Linked DNA regions of Homo sapiens: region 1 is linked to region 2. Evidence: promoter capture Hi-C in 16 types of primary human blood cells and fetal thymus (Javierre and others, 2016). All regions are on one chromosome and are shown on one strand. The core of a region is centred on a gene start or on the middle of the fragment in contact, and the rest is flanking DNA. Distances in the headings are between cores, read along the strand shown.

Region 1 (6,474 bases), core at 1,870-4,369, 52 kb before region 2:
TCTCCATATGTTACTGTTTAGACAGTATCACCCAGTGCAGAATGTAGTTTTCAAGACTGTCATTCCTGCAACCTCAAATCTAGATCCAAATGCAGTCAGTTAAAGCAGATTTCAACCAGGCAGCTAAACGAGAAAACATCTGGACCTACCAGTCAAAATGAGAAAGGTCACATGTTAAACCCAGATAATCTTGTTTATTGGTGTTTGAAGGTTATACACCAAGGGCTGGATTACCAGGGTGCTCCTTTAGGCCTGGCTCTGACATCTTCATTCACCTGCTGTGTGTGTGACGCTTTAAAATCCAAAGCTTTGAAAGTACTGTGTTATTAGTCACTTCCAAATGTAATTTTCCTAATTCTAAGCCTGAATACTATGTCAACCTATTGCTAGACTGCTGATTAGATCCTGGAAGAAACCGCAAGACACAACTGTCAGGGGCAGATGATGTCTATTCTTTTAAAAACTGTTTTCCACATTTCCATTCAGCATTTTTCTATGGATGAAGCACCTGTAATTTTCTCCATCAAAATTAAGAAAAGAAAAGGCCTCTGAATAAGCAAGGAATAAAATTAAAAGATTGACATAGATTTCAGGATGATGATGAAGAAAGGGAGATTGAATCTTTCATTATTTTTCATAATTAGTATTATTTTATATACAAACAACTGAACCAAAATTGTTTATGTTGGAAGCAATTCCACATGCCAGTGCATATGAAACTATTATGAAAACAGCAAAGTCAAGTTTCTTAAGACTTTACATGCTTTGGTCAGATCTTTTTAATCTTTTTTAGGTTGTGAACATCTTTGAGAACTGTACTCTTTGCCCAGAAAAAGGTACACATGCCCATAAACACGAAATTTCACATACTATTGATTGATTTCTCAAACCCTGAGATCTCAGGTTGAGAATCTCTGCCTCAGGCCTTTAAATAGGCTCAGGCTTAAAGACACCTCTGTGTTATATTTTGTAAACTTCATATAATAGTGGTTGGCATTTTTCAAATTTTTTGCTCAAGCATCCTCAAAAGAATTTTGAAAAATTATATATCTCTCTTATACATAGTGGACATTAAGTACATACTAAGTTGACATCTATAATTTTTCATCATGAGTTTAACTATTTTTAAACAAAAGAATACAGTTTGTGTATTGTAAATAATGATAGTTTAAACCATTACCACACCCTTTCAAATGTATCTACTTAGGAATATATACATATTTGTGATTTAATTTACTCCATCATGAATTTAAAAATACATAAGTAAGCTTTTCAAGAAAGTCAGGAAATTTCTCTTTGAACTTCTATTTCCATTTCACTACCCCCATGGAATTTTCTCCTAATGTAGTACTCTTGTATGCTTGAGTCATCTATTGTTCATCCCATTATATGTATCTGCAGCAAAAAAAAAAAAAAAAACCCAATAAAATATAGTTACTTTTGTTAACATGAAGTGCTATGTGTCAAAATGTGTTTTCTTCTGGATTGAATTAGCATTACAATTATTAACATACAATTGAGTAAAACAATATAGGTATATTATAATTTGATCAATAATTACCAAATACAAAAAGTAAAATTTATTGGGACTGTATCTCCTAATGAGAAGGATAGAGAGGAAATAAGTTATGAAAATTTGATAAAAGAAATTATCTAATTGATCCTTTGTTTGGCATCTTGGAAGTACTTACACCTTAGAGGTGGGTGAGAAATGTTCTTTTCTTTTATAAAGTGGAGAAGGAAGGCTGGGCATGGTGGCTTATGCCTGTAATCTCAGCAATTTGGGAGACCAAGGCGAGAAGATCACTTGAGTCTAGGAGTTCAAGACCAGCCTGGGCAACACAGTGAGACCCCTCTACAAAAAGTTAAAAAATTAGCAGGGCATGGTGGTGGGTGCCTGTAGACCTAGTTACTCAGGAGGTTGAGGTGGAAGTATTGCTTGAGCCCACGAGGTCAAGGCTACAGTGAACTGTGATTACACCACTGCACTCCAGCCTGGACAGCAGAGCAAGACCCTGTCTGAAAGAAAGAAAGAAAGAGAGGGAGAGAAAGAAAAAGAGGGAGAAAGGGAGGAAATAAAAAAAGAGAAAGAGAAAGAGAGAAGGAAAGAAAGAAAGAAAGAAAGAAAGGGAAAGAAAGACAGAAAGGGAAAGAAAGAAGGAAGGAAGGAAGGAAGAAAGGACGGAAGGAAGAAAGGAAGGAAGAAAAGGAAGGAAGGAAAGGAAGGAAGGAAGAAAGAAAGAAAGGAAGAAAGAAAAGAAAAAGCAAGCAAGCTCAATGGCAGCAGTCTTCTAGGCAGATCAGTTTTAGGAAGAAGGGCAGAGAATATACTGAAGTTGCGGACCTGGAAATTGATTCTCTTAAAATTATCCCATGCAATCCTTGGAAAGTTTTCCCAGCATTTCAAGAACACTACTAAAATAAAAGACCCCAATGCCAAAATGTACTCACATGCTGTTCTTCACTTTAGTTAATGAACCAATAATTATTTAGTGAGCACTTGTGAACACTGCAGGGGATAAATGGATGAATGGATGGTTGGATGGAAAGGCAGAAAGAAAAATGGATAAACACTGAGCATTTACTATATTCCCAGAACTTTGGCACAAAAGAACACAACTATAAAAGACTGTTCTTGCCATGTCTTTGGGACACAATCAAGTACAATAACACCCTGCCACAATACAATGTGTACAAATTTGGATGTAAAAGGATTGCTGATTGCCTCCAGTTGTCTACCCTTGCCCACTTCTCAGACAAGAGCAAGCTAAAGTTCTTATGGGAATGGATAGGAAGTAATTGCTTCAAGATCATTTGGGTCTTTTAAGGTTTACAATTGTGTCCAGTTTAAACTTCACTGTCATTGCTTTGTGCTTTTTGTAACAGTATATTAAAAACAAAACAAAACACAAAACCACCTACTATATTTCATTTACTTGCAATAATATGACCCCCATATTTTACAAGATAAAATTTCGGGATCCCATCTACTATGTTGTGGAGAGAGCTCATGTACTCTTCTTGTCTCCGACACTATTCTCTTTCATGCAAACTACAACACAAAAACAAAAACAAAACAGAACACCCAAAACCCAAAATCCCTTTGGGCTGACAAATTACAAAAAATTTGATAGTTCTGATGAGCCAGGACAGGATTTTGTTCAGTCTTCAGTCCAGTGGTGTTCTGGTAATTGCTTAACAACCAGCTCAGGATCGGGGAAGGGCTTATTTGTGGCATTTGCTGATTTCAGTGGTATAAATACTCCACCATGGCCAATTTCAAGCTACCATCATGGAGTCAGCCAGCATACAAAATTGTTGAAAATTTAACAAGCAGCTATGAGCTGATTCTGGCACACCACTGGGACTCCTCATTTATCCCTCAGCAGGGTACCTTCCTCTAGCTATCAAATGGCACCAAGGTACACAATGGCTCGGGTCACCGTGCCTGGTGCCAAAGTTTATTTGAGAAGCAGAACTCACTTGGCAAGAAAAGCTGCTATGAAAGTTAGCAGGCACATAAGGGTGTTTCATGCGTTCTCTTAATCCAGCTGGAAGGAGGCACCAACACTACTGCTTAACAGACAAAGAATGCAAAAAGAGGCAGGGCGAAGTGGCTCACGCCTGTAATCCCAGAACTTTGGGAGGCCGAGGTGGGCAAATCACGAGGTCAGGAGATCAAGACCATCTTGGCTAACACGGTGAAACCCCGTGTCTACTAAAAATACAAAAATAAAATTAGCCGGGTGTGGTGGCGGGCGCCTGTAGTCCCAGCTACTTTAGAGGCTGAGGTGGAAGAATGGCGTGAACCCGGGAGGTGGAGCTTGCAGGGAGCCCAGTTCGCACCACTGCACTCCAGCCTGGGCGACAGGGCAAGACTCCATCTCAAAAAATAAATAAATAAATAAATAAATAAATAAATAAAAAGAATGCAAAAAGAAGGGAGAAAACTCTCCAGAGGATCCACTAAGGACAGTGGGCAGCCCCATTTTTCTGTTAACCATTGCAACTGTCTGTGGCTCTTTGGCAGATGTCAAATATCTTCCTACACATTCCTTTTAGTTTGCTGTGCTACGCAGCTTAGTTATGAAAAAAAAAAAAAAGAAGAAAAGAAAATCCAGAGATGTTTTCTGTTAAAAAGTTTCAAGGGCCAGGCACAGTGGCTCACACCTGTAATCCCAGCACTTTGGGAAGCCAAGGCAGGAGGATTGATTGAGTCCAAAAGTTTGAGACTAGCCTGGGCAACATAGCGAGACCCCGTATCTACAGAAAAAAAAAAATTAGCCATGCATGGTGGCATGCAACTGTAGTCACAGCTACTCTGGAGTCTCGGGTGGGAGGATCACTTGAGCCTGGGAGGTTGGGGCTGCAGTGAGCCGAGATCGTGCCACTGCACTCCAGCCTGGGTGACAGCGTGATTAAAAAAAAAAAAAGATTCAGGGAGAGATGTCTTGGTTTTATCATCAACAGAACTTACCCGTTTGACACAGTACAAGCTGTAAAGCTCTGCCCATGGTAAGCACTTACAGAAATCCCCTGTGAGTGAACTTCTGCAGCACAGCACTGCTGATTTTGTAAGATAACCCCTGCATCCCATGAGTGACAGGTCTTGATCTGGGCTTGAGAGATGTAATATTTTGATAAAAAACGGCACTTCCTTTTGAAGCATATATTTGCGTGTACTAAGCAGTACCGCGGGAGCCTCAGCGAGTGCCTAAGCGAGGCTGACGCGGTCTCTCCCAGCTCGCTCCAGCCACCCTTCTTCACACATCTAAATGTGGCGGTAATTAGCATCCATAAACCACACATGTGGCTTAATTTTTTTTCCCCTTTCAGAAGCATCAAAGTAGTTTGTACTTCTTCTAAGCACCAAAGAGTTGTACACCTCAAAAGGGACCGAGACTATGCCATGGGAAGCTACTGAAGATGGGAGTTATTTCTCCTAAGGGGAAGAAGAATTATTTTTTTCAGCAAGCTTTCTAATTAAAGTTCTTATCTTTGATCTAAGCATCTACACTGCACAAGATGTCACAATGGAGAAAATATAAGGCCTTTCAAAAGTGATCAAATTCAACTTTTCTCTTGGAATCAGGCAAGACCCATAGCTTGTACAGAATGGAAGTAATTAAATACATACACCGATTGATCACCACTGCACAATTAATTAAAAAAGAAATCTATTTCATGATGGGTATTGGGTCTATTTGATATTTAGTTACAGAGCCAGGAGATGAAGGGTGTACTGTGTTGAATAGTGTCCCTCCTAAATTCATGTCCTCCTGGAACCTCAGAATGTGACTTTATTTGGAAATATCGTCATAGTAGATGTAATTAGTTAAGATGAGGTCACACTGGATTAGGGTAGGCCCTAAATCCAATGACTAGTCTCCCTAGAGGAGGACAGAAACAGGAGATGCCCACAGAGATGAAGCCCACGTGACAATGGAGGCAGAGATTAGAGTTATGCTGCCATGACCAAGGAACACCAGGCATTGCTGGAAGTCACCAGAAGCCAGAAAGAGGCAAAAAAGAACTCTTCCCTAGGCCCTTCCCATGGTCCTGCTGACATCTTAATTTTGAACTTCTACCCTCCAGAATAGTAAAAAATTTCTGTTGCTTTGTGACAAACTGGTGTTTTGTCACCCAGTTTGTGGTAATTTATTATGGAAGCCCTGGAAAACTAAGACAGAGGGTAAATGTGCAACTCAGGCAGGGTAAACAGCTAGTGTTGATGGGTATCGAGGTATCGTGTGTACTTTTTACCCCTACAGCAGCTCCAGAACAAATGGCTTGTGTAAATAGAGATAGTGGATGATGGGGGCTGCTGAAAAATAGGGGGCCAGTAGAGTGTTAAATACAGGGGGTCAGTAGCCCAACTTTTATTCCTCAGCTATTCAAAGAGGAAAAAATACTATCGGCAAATGCATCATACCCTCATAACATATACATGCTCATGACAGAACCTTTCCTTCTATTTTCTAAGTGGGAAATGGCAAAGACGGGAATCCAATTTCAGAGGAAGAAGGACTGAAACAAAAAGTCGCAAGAGTTCTATTTCAGTCGTTCAGGCCTTAAGGCCATGTCTTTTCCACTAATTTAAGCACCTAATTACATTCTCTCTGAAATTGTTTGTGCATGACAATTGCCTTGCTGGGATGACATTCCACCATCTCGAGTCTTATCTCTACCTAGTTAATATCCCTCAGTACACTAGCATGAAACACATCTTCCCTCTAGCCTTGATACTCAGAGGTTTTTATTTTTTAGTTGCTCTGTGATCATAGGCCAAGATATAAGCAACAATAATATTCTTTCTCATGATATTTTATAAAATTGTTTTAACTCTTGCTTTTGACATCACAGTATCTTGCTGACATTTTAGATCCAAGTAGAAGGTCCCAAATCTTTTGTATTCAGTAAAGTGGCTGTGATATTCCCAGCACTCATTGGATGCTAAACAAAAATAAAGACTTG
Region 2 (7,095 bases), core at 3,704-6,203:
CCTTGGTGTCATCCTTATGATTTTTTTTTTTTTTGAGACAGGGTCTTGCTCTGTTGCCCAGGCTGTGGCATGCTCATGTCAGTGCAGTGGCATGCTCATGGCTCACGGTAGCCTCGACCTCCCAGGCTCAAGCCATCTTCCTACCTCAGCCTTCCAAGTAGCTGTTACTACAGGCATGTGCTACCACACCTGGCTAATTTTTGTAGTTTTTGTAGAGTCAGGGTTTTACCATGTTGCCCAGGCTGGTCTTGAAGTCCCAGGCTCAAGCAATCTGCCCGCCTCAGCCTCCCAAAGTGCTAGGATTACAGGCGTGAGCCACCACTCCTGGCCTCATCCTTATAATTTCTAATTATCATAAATATACCAGTTAATATGGAGCTAAATTTAATAAAGGCTAAATAGCAGAGTACATTCTATGGCCTTGTGATGTGTAGGGTCTCTTTTCAAAATAATTAATGAATCCTTAGGACAAAAGACATTTATTGAGCACCTACTATAGGCAAGTTTCTGTGTTAATCACTCAGTTCTTCTCATACATGGTCTGGAACTATAGCTTGACATATGAGCCAATTATCATTGGACATCTATCTAGGCCAGGTGCAGTGGCTCACTCCTGTAATCCCAGCACTTGGGAAGGTTGAGGCGGAAGGATCACTTGTGGCCAAGAATTCAAGACCAACCTGACCAACATAGTGAGACCCCCATTTCTACAAAAAATGAAAGATAATAAATCAGCAGGTCATGGCGGTTTGTACAATAAATTACCAGGTTATGGTGGTGGATGCCTGTAGTCCTAGCTACTCAGAAGGTTGAGGCAGGAGGATCGTCTGAGCCTAGGAGTTTGTGGTAGCCTGGGCAACAGAGCAAGGACTATCTCTTTAAAAATAATAATAAAAAAAAAAAACTGGATGTCTGATAAAAGATCTACCAATAATCAATAATCTTTTAGTCCTAAATAAGTGTAAGTATATACATTTATATATGAATGAAAAGTTTATAACAATGTATTTTTAAAGTATCACTTGAAAGCGTATGCTATTTTTATGGCATCATCTATATCTTACTGACTGAGAAAACAAATTTCTGCTCATATTCAATGGATATTTTAATGGACTAATTGCGATCCTGAAATCTGCTTATGTAAATTTAACAGTTAAAATTTGGCTTTACACAAAAAAGAATGAAATCATATCCTTTGCAACAACATGGATGCAGCTGGAGGCCATTATTCTTAGTGAATTAACACAGAAACAGAAAACCAAATACCGCATGTTCTCACTTATGACGGGGAGCTAAACACTGGGTACACATGGACTGTTATGAATTAATGTGACCCCCAAATTAGACACTGATGACCCCAAAATGGGGAAGGGTGGGAGGAGGGCAAGGGTTGAAAAACTACCTATAGGACACTATGCTCATTATTTGGGTGACAGGATCAATAGAAGCCCAATCCTCAGCATCACATAATATACTTATGTAAGAAACCTGCACATGTACCCCCTAAATCTAATTTTGTTAAAATTGGCTTTAAGTGACAGTCTAGCAAAAAATATCCAATAACATTTTTGTTTTCCAAGCTTTCTTTTTCAATTATACAGTTTAAGTGCTTAAAAAATTACTGAGCTTTATCAAAGAATTACTAGCCCCAATCTCCTACTTTAAAAATTTATTTAAATAAAATGCATCACAATAAACATAATAAAAAGTACTTTTTCAGCACTATTTTAATTGAATGCAACAAATTCTGAGGGCCTTCTATGAACCAGAAACTGTCCTTCGCATTCAGTGTACAAAAACAAGACACAGTCTCTGTTCTCCAGAAGCTTAAAGACCAGAGGGGGAATAAACACCTACATCAATAAATAATTTCAACACAATGTGGTAGAAGTATACACAGAAAGGAGAGGCCCTTAGCTGAGGTGAAGGAACATGAGAGACTGGGTAGGGGTGATCACCAGAAGGCACTAGGAGGAGGTCATCAGAAGAAGGTCATCAGAGAGCCTTCATGGCGATGATGCCTGAGCAGAGTCTTGAAAGATGAGTAGGCATAAGCAAGTAGAGAATGGGTGAACATAATAGCAAAGACATGGAAGCATGAAATAGCATACTGGATTAAAGGAAGTACAAACAGGAATTTTGAAAAATTATGTTCTACCAGGACGCCACGGCCTTTCTGTGGCTTTTGTTTCTTAAAACCTTCGCATTTCATCCTCCATACGCTCACAATGGAGGGCAAACAGATTCCATCATCTACAGGCTTTATCTCTGTTAATCTCAGCCATCCAGAACATGGAAAGGGACCTGAAACAAAACCCTACTACCACAAAATCTATGTGGTAAGAAATATAAGCTGACATCAAGAAGGAGACAAAAATTGTACAATATCCTAGGTATGTTTGGTGTAGGGGCATTCAGCTCAAAACCCCTGTGAGAATATATTATGGAATAATATATGATCTGATGGTGAGAACAGTAACTCAGAGTTGCCGAGATAAACTTATCTCTTATGTACCTTGCTTATAAAGCAGGGAGCTGTGTAATAAATATACTTAGAAAAATCTTTACTCAATATTGTTAAAAATAAAAATGTTTTACATTAAATAAGAAGTCTGCCATTACCTGTGAAATTCATGTTTGTGAACCACCTCATTTCCCGACCATAACAGACAGAAGAGATGTTATAGTACAAATAATAAAATTTAGTGATTCATAAACAGTCTTTGGGTAGAAAATATTTAAGGTCACAGATTGTGAGAAAATTAAAAAGTTATAGCTTCTGATTTTAGTATATTCATTAAATCTTCATTTCTACAAGATTTCTATTTCAAAAGCTTATTCATCTGACATCTTCATACATAGAAAGTCTCAATAAATTAATTAAAAGATAAATGAATTTGTTAAATGACTTTATATGCTGAAGGAATGATATACAGTATTGCATTGTACAATAAACTGTTATGAATCAATGTGACCCCCAAATTGGGCAGAAAATAAAGGTATTCCATGAAGTATTCTACTTTCTTACATTGCCAAGAGAGGTATACACTATAGACCAAATCTCTAATCTAGACTGAGATCAAAACCACAAGATGATATAAAAATTTTTTAAATATCAAAAACATGGGCCAGATTAGTCTATTTTGGGTAGCTATAATGAACCAGATATTTTACCACATCAAATACTCTATACGCAAGGACCTGACATTAAAATAGCCAAATTCATATAATTAACCTCTTTTTAAAATTTAAATGTTAAAGTTTTTTCATTAAGCATAATCTATACTATCTATCTCCATGGACCTATAGATTTAATCTAATCATGTAAACACAACTTTAAAAAGTTATTGATCTACATTCTCTTTCCATTTATAGTCTACACACTCTAAATTAAATTCTACACAAGTTTTCATTCTTTTCTTCTTAAGGGAGTCTTCAGGCTTATTAAACATCTGTGTTAGTACACCAATAACCTAAGATATGCTATTTAGTTTCTTTATTGCACATTAAATAAATGAATTTGGAAGTATTAACATTTATAGAGAAATACTCCAGTTTCTATGGATTTACATGATTCTGTACATTATCCTTGATACGTGGTATGGTTACGGCTAGGAAAAATAGTGTTGGAGTACTGATTTATAATTTCATAAAAACAAATTAATCATTTGTAATAATTAAAGCATATGAGCTTTTCAAAAATTATTTTTCCCATAGTATACAACAGCCCAACTTTTTTTCCTTGTTATTGGCCAATAAAACCTTTGTTAAAAATTACACTTCAATAAACCATTATTTAAATGTTAAAAATGCAAAATTTTTAAAGTTTTCAAGCCCTAATTAAAAAAATTAAAAGCATAAAGTTTTTGATATTTTAACAACTTTATATACTCTAGAAATAAAGCTGCCAAAGATCAGTTCATTGTTAATTAGAGATTCTTCCATTATTATGAAGAAAATACCCACGATCTTCATATTTATCAAAGTAACATTTTAGTTAGGTGTCAATATCTCATTTTTAATAGAATGAAATTCTGAATTTCTTAATCCCACCATCCCCCCCCGAGTTGAGATGCATTTGCCATTTTCAAGGTTTTAGAAACACTTGTTGAAAAGACCATTGAAGAGTTTACAGTAGCAGTGTGAAATTTTAGGTATCCCAAGGAAGTACAGAATGAAAAATGTTTGAGAAGCAAGGATAGTGTTACGACTTTCAAAATTAATTCATATGAAACTCCTAATGTGAACCTGATTTTTTGCGCTGGGTAAAGAAGACTCATTAGAAGATCGAGTTCCAAGGGAACTGCAAATGCCAACCGCTTTAAAATGTACCTTTCCCATATGACACCATTTACCCTTGGAAGAAAACAAGTTACTCAGATTAGTCTAATTCCAATAAACACTGAGGCCATGAAGGAAAAAATATCCAAAAGGGTTGATTATTCCACCCCAGATTTGCAGCCATTTCAGGGACACCCCTTAAGTGCTCTTCCTCTGCAGATGTAGGGTAGACCCCCCATGTCTGACAACTCTTTAGAAATAAAATTGCGAAGAAGTTATCACTTTCCAAAGGGCGGGGGAAGGACAAGTGAGAGACGTTAAGAGAACCGACGCGCTTTGTCCTCTGAAATACCTCATATTTACTTTTGACAAAAGAAGTAAATAGAAGCAAAACTGAGATTCAGAAGAAACTCTTTCTACTGCTTGCACAGGTTAAGTTTCTCAAAGACCCCGGAGAAAAGAAGCGGGCTGGAGGCTCACCTTCCATGTCGCTGCCGGGCCGGGCTGGAGCTGCCGCTGTGGCTACTCGGCCTCTCCACGTGCTCCTGCCGTCGCCTGGACTCAGCGCGCAGCTGGCGGGAGATTCCCGGCGCGGGGAGTCCCCGGGATCCGGCAGCCGCGTCGGCGCAGACTGAAAAGGGCAGGAGCCGGCGACCTGCCGGTGCGCGGGGTTACAGCGGCGCTGGCTGGCGGCGGCTTTAAAGGACGCTGGCCGCGGAGTGCCGCGGGTTCCGCGCCTCCAGCCCCCTTTCGAATGTCAAACCCAAGGAACCCCGACAGGATGGAAATGTCGCATCACTAAATTGTCTCAAAATGTCTATTTTAGAAGGATAATGGATGAGAAAAGTGACATCACACGGAGGGTCGGGGGTCAGCCTTGCTTTCTTGGCAAGCTGAAGTTCAAAGACGTTTATCTTAAATTGAGGAAGATCTGGAACTTTTTGTCTAGATTCAGTGATAACAGCCGTGGAAAGTATCAATGAGAACCCCCTTCTTTCAAAGTATTTTTTTTTCCTTCCTCACTTTTTCATTTCACATGGTAAAAGTTTTTGGTCCAAGTTTTCAGACAGTTGGAAAGGATTTTGGCACTTCTATCAATTCAACTTTTTAATTTTTGGAAGCATTTATCTCACTTTTGTTTTCCCTCTGGGAACTGCTTGATTTATTTGCCACCACTCACGCAATACTACCCACTCTATATAAATAGAGGGAGTGTTTTATAGAGTGTGTTTATTTTCTCCCAGCCTGCCTTCTTCTAAATACACACCTTACAAAAATACATATATGATGTACCAGAAAATTAAGCAAAGAAAGTAGAGCTAAGGGTGGAAGGTGGGGGCAGTAAGATTGTAAAATTAACTTAAAGATGTTAGTATACAGATATGTATCAGTCAACATCTTCTCCCAACACCCTCCCTACTGTCCAGAGGTAAAGCACACATTTGACTGCAGAGAGAGGAAAGGGGAAGTGACCACAAAACTGTTTTTCAAAGCAGAACTTTTCTTCACATTGAGGTCTAAGGGACATTGTTCAGGTGAGCCCTTCTAAAGATATCCAGCGTGTGGGACAATATACGAATGAGTCTCAAAAGGCCACTGTCACCGCTATTAGAAAATTATATTAGTGCATACAAATATATTTGAGACTTAAGGCTGAGGGTTTGTGCATCAGCTGTCCATATCAGAAGAAACCCACACTTACAAGTTAAAGTATACATGCTGTAATTTTATGAATTGTAGCTTTAAACAATAGTATGTCGTTGGTATAGGCAGTCTATGTGATGTGTGTATATATATTCAAGTGGGTGAAAAACTACACTGGCTTTAAGCACCACAGTAGCATCTCTATAACTGTATGAGTTGGGAGTTCTGCAGGATGTCAATTTTGGAGAAATACTCTAAACACTAGGTCTAATTTTAGTACTGAAAGGGGAAATTTGTTGTTTGTTAGTTTCTAAAAGCAAAAATAGCACATCAAAAGTAGCAGAAGAGGAACTGTAAAATTTCACAGGGATGGTATGAGGATGAAAAGTTATTTGGTTATGAAAAAGTTGTAGGCCAGGCGCAGTGGCTCACGCCTGTAATCCCAGCACTTTGGGAGGCCAAGGCAGGTGGATCACGAGGTCAGGAGTTCGAGACCAGCCTGGCCAACATGGCAAAATACTGTCTCTACTAAAAATACAAAAATTAGCTGGGCGTGGTGGCGCATGCCTCTAATCCTAGCTACTCAGGAGGCTGAGGCAGGAGAATCGCTTGAACCCAGCAGGCAGAGGTTGCAGTGAGCCGAGATCTTGCCACTGAACTCCAGCCTGGGCAACAGAGTGAGACTTCGTCTCAAAAAAAAAAAAAAAAAGTTGTAAGGAAACTTTATGATTTTCCATTACAATGTTCTTCTGTATATTTGACAGTGGAACGTGTTAGTACTCTGTAAATAGTTCAATACTGAGTATTTCGGACTCCCGAGAGTGATACCTAAGGGGATTAAAAGTGAATTGGTAAAATAACTTATGTAGCTACTCCACCTTCAAGGAGATGCAGCATAAATCCCCACTCTTTAAGTGTGGGTGCACAAAGTGACTTCCTTCCGAAGAGTATAGTATGAAAGCAGGGGAATAAGTTGACAGTGGAGAAACCTGACAAACAGTACCTCAGCCAGCAGACCAAGGTTAACATCAAGTGATAAGGCATGTTGATAGTATGTCCCCTTGATATGATGTGATGAGAATGTCATTTTATCTCTGTAATCTTCCTCCTAAGAATCCATAATTCTAGTCTAATATGGAGAAAGACACCAAATTCCAGTAGAGAGGCATT

Evidence for each region. The method cuts DNA at HindIII sites, captures the fragments that hold promoters and counts their contacts. A CHiCAGO score of 5 or more calls a contact.
Region 1: a fragment that was not itself captured here is called in contact with the fragment with the promoter of IKZF3 in region 2 in 1 of 17 cell types (total CD8 T cells); the score reaches 5.1 in total CD8 T cells.

The regions. Positions count from the first base shown.
Region 1 is chr17:39,809,215-39,815,688 of GRCh38, forward strand. All of the region lies in intron 3 of IKZF3 (IKAROS family zinc finger 3), which reads right to left. Among named protein-coding and RNA genes, the nearest start is that of IKZF3, 52 kb to the right of the region's middle. The HindIII fragment of the contact is 3,707 bases long and covers 1,267-4,973 here.
Region 2 is chr17:39,859,359-39,866,453 of GRCh38, forward strand. It overlaps IKZF3 (IKAROS family zinc finger 3), which reads right to left and starts at 4,954. Exons shown (of 8, transcript NM_012481.5): 1 at 4,762-4,954. The coding sequence starts at 4,768. RefSeq lists enhancers at 2,058-2,217, 4,576-4,695, 4,706-4,795, 5,523-5,592, 5,653-5,712. The HindIII fragment of the contact is 8,560 bases long and covers 2,833-7,095 here.